Linked DNA regions of Homo sapiens: region 1 is linked to region 2. Evidence: promoter capture Hi-C in human tissues and cell types (Jung and others, 2019). All regions are on one chromosome and are shown on one strand. The core of a region is centred on a gene start or on the middle of the fragment in contact, and the rest is flanking DNA. Distances in the headings are between cores, read along the strand shown. Region 1 has its middle 89 kb from the start of HAND2-AS1. Region 2 holds the start of HAND2 (heart and neural crest derivatives expressed 2).

Region 1 (2,769 bases), core at 56-2,555, 89 kb after region 2:
GGCAAGGAGCTGTTTTCCTTTGAAGGAGAAGAGGCACTCTGGTTTTTAGAATTTTCAGCTTTTCTTCTCTGGTTTCGCACCATCTTTGTGGTTTTATCCAACTTTGATCTTTGATGTTGGTGACCTACAGATGGGGTTTTGGTGTAGATGTCCTTTTTGTTGATGTTGATGCTATTCCTTTCTGTTTGTTAGTTTTCCTTCTAACCGTCAGGTCCCTCAGCTGCAGGTCCATTGGAGTTTGCTGGAGGTTCACTCCAGACACTGTTTGCCTGGGTATCACCAGCAGAGGCTGCAGAACAGCTAATATTGCAGAACGGCAAATATTGCTGCCTAATCCTTCTGAAGCTTTGTCCCAGAGAGGCACCCTCCTATATTAGGCATTGGTCAGCCCCTACTGGGAGGTGTCTCCCAGTTAGGCTACACAGGAGTCAGGGACCCACTTGAGGAGGCAGTCTGTCTGTTCCAGAGCTCAAACACCATGCTGGGAGAACCACTTCTCTCTTCTGAGATGTCAGACATGGACGTTTAGGCCCGCACAAGTTGTCTGCTGCCTTTTGTTGGCTATGCCCTGCCCACAGAGGTGGAGTCTATAGAGACAGTAAGCCTTGCTGAGCTGTGGTGGGCTCCGCCCAGTTTGAGCTTCCTGGCAGCTTTGTTTACCTACTCAAGCCTCAGCAATGGCGGACACCCCTCCTGCAGCCAGGCTGCTGCTTCACAGTTCAATTTCAAACTGCTGTGCTAGCAGTGAGCAAGGCTCTGTGGGTGTGGGACCTGCCGAGCCAGGCATGGGAGAGAATCTCCTTGCCTGACGGTTGCTAAGACCTTGGGAAAAGTGCAGTATTTGGGTGAGAGTGTCCCGTTTTTCCAGGTACAGTCTGTCATGGCTTCACTTGGCTAGGAAAGTGAAATCCCTTGACCCCTTGCACTTCGTGGGTGAGGCAACACCCTGCCCTGCTTTGGCTCACCCTCCGTGGGCTGCACCCACTGTCCAATGAATCCCAATGAGATGAACCAGGTACCTCAGTTGGAAATGCAGAAATCACCCATCTTCTGCATCAATCACACTGGGAGCTGCAGACTGGAGCTGTTCCTATTCTGCCATCTTGGAATGAAGATCCCCTTGGTAATTTTTTTGTCTGTCTATTTGATTCTTCTCTCTTTTCTTCTTTATTAGTCTGGCTAGTGGTCTATCTATTTTATTTATCCTTTCAAAAAGCCAGCACCTGGATTCATTGACTTTTTGAAGGGTTTTTTGTGTCTCCGTCTCCTTCGGTTCTGCTCTGATCTTAGTTACTTCTTGTCTTCTGCTAGCTTTTGAATTTGTTTGCTCTTTCTTCTCTTTCTTTTGAATTTGTTTGTTCTTCTCTCTTTCTAGAGAAGGACATCACTTCTTTTAGTTGTGATGTTAGGGTGTCGATTTTAGATCTTTCCTGGTTTCTCCTGTGGGCATTTAGTGCTATGAATTTCCCTCTAATCACTGCTTTAGCTGTGTCCCAGAGATCCTGGTATGTTGTGTCTTTGTTCTCATTGGTCTCAAAGAACATCTTTATTTCTGCCTTCATTTCATTATTTACCCAGTAGTCATTCAAGAGAAGGTTGTTCAGTTTCCATGTAGTTGTGCAGTTTTGAGTGAGTTTCTTAATCCTGAGTTCTAGTTTGATTTCACTGTGGTCTAAGAAACTGTTTGTTATAATTTCCATTCTTTTGCACTTGCTGAGAATTGTTTTACTTCCAATTATGTGGCCAATTTTAGAATAAGTGCTACATGGTGCTGAGAAGAATGTATGCTCTGTTGATTTGGGGTGGAGCATTCTGTAGATGTCTGTTAGGTCTTCTTGTTGCAGAGCTGTGTTCAAGTCCTGAATATCCTTGTTAATTTTCTGTCTCGTTGATCTAATATTGACAGTGGGGTGTTAAAGTCTCCCACTATTATTGTGTGAGAGTCTAAGTCTCTTCGTAGGTCTCTAAGAACTTGCTTTATGAATCTGTGTGTTCCTATATTGGGTTCATATATATTTAGGATCATTAGCTTTTCTTGTTGCATTGATCTTTTTACCATTATGTAATGCCCTTCTTTGTCTTTTTTGATCTTGTTGGTTTAAAGTCTGTTTTATCAGAGACTAGGATTGCAACCCCTGCTTTTTTTTTGCTTTCCATTTGCTTGGTAGATCTTCCTCCATCCCCTTATTTTGAGTCTATGTGTCTTTGCACGTGGGATGCATCTCCTGAATACAGCACACCGATGGGTCTTAAATCTTTATCCAATTTCCAGTCTGTGTCTTTTAATTGGAGTCTTTATCCCTTTTACATTTAAAGTTAATACTGTTATGTTTAAATTTGATCCTGTCATTATGATGTTAGCTGGTTATTTTGCCCATTAGTTGATGCAGTTTCTTCATAGTGTTGACGGTCTTTACAATTTGGTATGTCTGCAGTGGCTGGTACCGGTTTTTCCTTTCCATATTTAGTGCTTACTTCAGGAGCTCTTGTAATGCAGGCTGGGTGGCCACAAAAATCTCTCAGCATTTGTTTGTCTCTTAAGGATTTTATTTCTCCTTTGCTTATGAAGCTTAGTTTGGCTGGATAGGAAATTCTGGGTTGAAAATTCTTTTCTTTAAGAATGTTGAATATTGGCCTTCACTCTCTTTGGCTTGTAGGGTTTCTGCAGAGAGATCCGCTGTTAGTCTGATGGGCTTCCCTTTGTGGGTAACCTGACCTTTCTCTCTGGCTTTCGTTAAGATTTTTTCCTTAATTTCAACCTTGGTGAAT
Region 2 (3,249 bases), core at 398-2,897:
AAGCCATCCTTACACAACCTGGTGCAAACAACCTTGAAGCGGGACGCAGCCAAAGAACACGAGATGCCATTTCTCAGCCCAATTGGAAAGAGGCCGGGAGCACCAGTTCCCTGACCCCCTCAGCCCCACCGCCTGCCGCCCCCTGGTACTGACCAGCTCCTTCTTCCTCTTCTCCTCTTTCACGTCGGTCTTCTTGATCTCTGCCTTGAAGGCCTCCGCCTCGCCATTCTGGTCGTCCTTGGCCAGCAGGTCCATGAGGTAGGCGATGTAGCTGGTGGCCAGGCGCAGGGTCTTGATTTTGGAGAGTTTGGTGTCGGCGGGTACGTTGGGGATGCACTCGCGCAGTTCGGCGAAGGCGCTGTTGATGCTCTGAGTCCTGCGCCGCTCCTTGCGGTTGGCGGTGCCTCGGCGCTTCACCGGGCGCGGCCCCCCCAGGCCCGGGGGCCCGGCGCCCGGCGGCACCCCCCCGTAATGGGAGTGGTCCAGGCCGGCGGCGCCGCTGGCATACTCGGGGCTGTAGGACAGGGCCATGCTGTAGTCGGGGGGCGACATCTCGGGGTGGCCGATGAGCCAGCCATGGAAGTAGGGGTTCTCCTCATGGCTGCAGCGGCTGGCGGCGGCGGCGGCAGCTGCGGCGGCGGCGGCGGCAAACGGGTAGCCCTCGTGGTGCACCACCGGGTGGTGGGGAAAACCACCTACCAGACTCATTTCGCCCTCCGCGCCCCTCCACGCGCCCCAGCGTGCGCGCAGCCCCGCCGCGCCCTCGGCCCGGGCCCCTGCCTCAGCGCTCGGCGTCCTCCCCCACCCCCCACCCCCCAGCCCCCGGGCGCCCGGGCCCGCCCGGCAGCCGCAGAGGGGGCTGCTGCAGCCCGGGCCCCGTCCCCCCGCCTGGCCAGCCGGGCCCGCCTCAGCAGCGCTGCGGCCGCCGGCTCCCCATGGGGCGCGGCGAGCTGGTCCTGGCACCGTGCGCCCCTGGCCGCCGCCGCCGCCGCCTCCGGTTCCCGCCTTGCTCCACGGCCCGCGCTTCGGCTCCTGCTTCCCGGGCTGCTGCGCGGAGGCAGAATCCTCTCGTGCTCATACAAAGGTGCCGGGGCTCCCGCGAGGCTGGTACGCGGAGTCTCGGGAATCCAAGCCCGGGCCGCGGTCCTGGCACCGAAGCTAACCCGGAATCCAGGGGCGAGTCTGAGCCGCGGCTGGAGGAGCCGGTCCAGCTGTGCCGGGGGGCGGCGGGGTCGACTGCTCACTGCAAAGCTACCTCCGTGCGACCCTCCCCTTCCCGCCTCTTCCCCTCCCCCCACCAGCCCGATCTGGGTTCTTGGGCGCTTATTGTTTTAATGAAATTTTTGGTTGTTGTTGTTTTGGTCCTTAAATGTGATTTTAGCTGCGAGTAACGTGTCCTCGCTCCTCTCGCGCTCTCTCGGAGGGTTTTCAGAGAGGTCTCAGTGCATCCATTTTCTCAGATCCTCTCCTTTCGGGGCAAGGATCTGGGGCCCTGAATGAGCCTTGGAGCTCGAAGACCGCGGCTCGGGCTCTCGGAGGGCTCTGCGCGGTGGCCGAGGAAGCTCCGGGGTGACGGCGGTGGTTCTCCTGGGCTGGACGACGTGAGGGGAGCAAGCGGATTTTCCCAGCAAGATCTCCATGTACAGCTACATCTTTAGGGCCGCTCGGGTTAATATATGTCGTCAGAGGCTCCTCACGCCAATCCCGGGGCGGCAGGGGCGGCGCCTCGAGCTCTCGGCAATAAAACTTTTTGATGTTCACGTTGCTAATTGCCGAGGTCCTCTTCCAGGATTGGCTACCTCCTCATAACCATAAGATAATTAAAACTTGGCGGGGGGGGGGGGCAGGGTTAAAAAAACTTTTTTTATCAGTCAGAGGATAATGCAAGTGTTTAACAGATGCTTCACTATTAAAATATTTTCCCCCCAAGTCTCAAATATTGAAGAATCTCTAACCAGGTACAGTATCACTCTGCTCTCTTTTCTGGTTGAAAAGAAAGAAAGAAAGAAAACGCAGGTATTGCTTTTCGAAGTGCTTTGTAGGTAATCGAGGTAAGAAAATATACGCAGGCAGCCTCTTACAATTTTATGCAGGGGCGCCGGGAGCCTCGTGACGGGCGGTGGGGGCCCCCACAAAGGCGCGGCTGGGAGCTGGCGCTCTTTGCCCCAGCAGGGACGAGGAGCGGCTGGAGAAGGGTGTTTCTTTGACCCGTTTACAGGCTCGAAACGCCGGTCTCAGTGGCTATTGAGTTACCCACCAAGTTACCCCGGTTAGAGCTGTTTGGGGTGGCTCACGTTATTGCGGCAAACTTTGGAGATGACGGCTGAGTCCTCCGGGCGAACATGTCAAGCCGATTGTAAATGCTGTTATTTCCACATCCTTCAGGGACACCAGTCCCTACGAAGACCTTGGGCGATTTTGAAGTGCGGGCACCTCGATTCCCCGAATCTGTAGTGTGGCTGGTATCGGTGTTCCCCTGGTTTAACTAGCCTGTTTGGTAAGTAACTGAATATTTTTTACGGCGTGTTCAGAGCTTATTTTCCAGTTTTTATGAACAAACATATAAATATATCTCTGCATTCCTGCCTCCCTCATAAAAGCGGGCATCTGTGGAAAGCAGGTTTAGTTATCGGAGGGGAACCATTAAACGCCAGTTTAAGAGGCAGGCCGGGAGGACGGCTCGTGGATGTTGAGACTGCTGGCCTTGGTGATCTTGAACGCATTATAACGGAAAATGGATCTCCACTTGTAAGTCACCGGGCCGCGGGGCACCCGGGCCGCAGCGCCCGTGTGGCATGAGCTTCTTGAGAAGGCTCACGTGCGGCGAGGGCGGGTGGTAAATGGCAGGAGCTGAAATCACCCCAGGCTTGGCCCCAAGCCGAGAGGGGAGGCTGATGTGTATATGCAGATTCCACCCGAAGGAGTTCGGTGTGGAAAACGGTGTCAACAGGAGCCCGCGGGCTGTAAATTAGAGGGAGGCGAGGGCCTGCGGCGCCAGCGCGGGACAGGGCGGCCTGGGGCTCGCCGCTGGTCAGGCCAGGTTAGCCCAAGGGAGACCAAAGACTCCACCTTGAGCATCGCCCTTTGGAGGCGGGCAGAGTCCGGCCGCAGGCCACAAAGCGATCCCCACCCGAAGGACTCCACAAGGACAGTCCTTTCCTTGCTCACCGCCGACAAAGTGGTTGGGGCAGGAAGGCGAGGTCAGTGCGAATGGAGGGCGCCCAACTTCGGTGTTGCAGTTGACTCTGT

What was found. The method cuts DNA at HindIII sites, captures the fragments that hold promoters and counts their contacts. A contact is called where the count stands out against the background at its distance.
Region 1: a contact is called between a fragment that was not itself captured here and the fragment with the promoter of HAND2 in region 2, in 2 of the 25 tissues and cell types used here (bladder and spleen).

The regions. Positions count from the first base shown.
Region 1 is chr4:173,618,262-173,621,030 of GRCh38, forward strand. No RefSeq gene overlaps it. Among named protein-coding and RNA genes, the nearest start is that of HAND2-AS1, 89 kb to the left of the region's middle. The HindIII fragment of the contact is 3,637 bases long and covers 1-2,769 here.
Region 2 is chr4:173,528,582-173,531,830 of GRCh38, forward strand. It overlaps HAND2 (heart and neural crest derivatives expressed 2), which reads right to left and starts at 1,648. Exons shown (of 2, transcript NM_021973.3): 1 at 154-1,648. The coding sequence starts at 708. HAND2-AS1 (HAND2 antisense RNA 1) reads left to right here and starts at 1,790. Exons shown (of 5, transcript NR_136196.1): 1 at 1,790-1,958; 2 at 2,386-2,497. The HindIII fragment of the contact is 12,639 bases long and covers 1-3,249 here.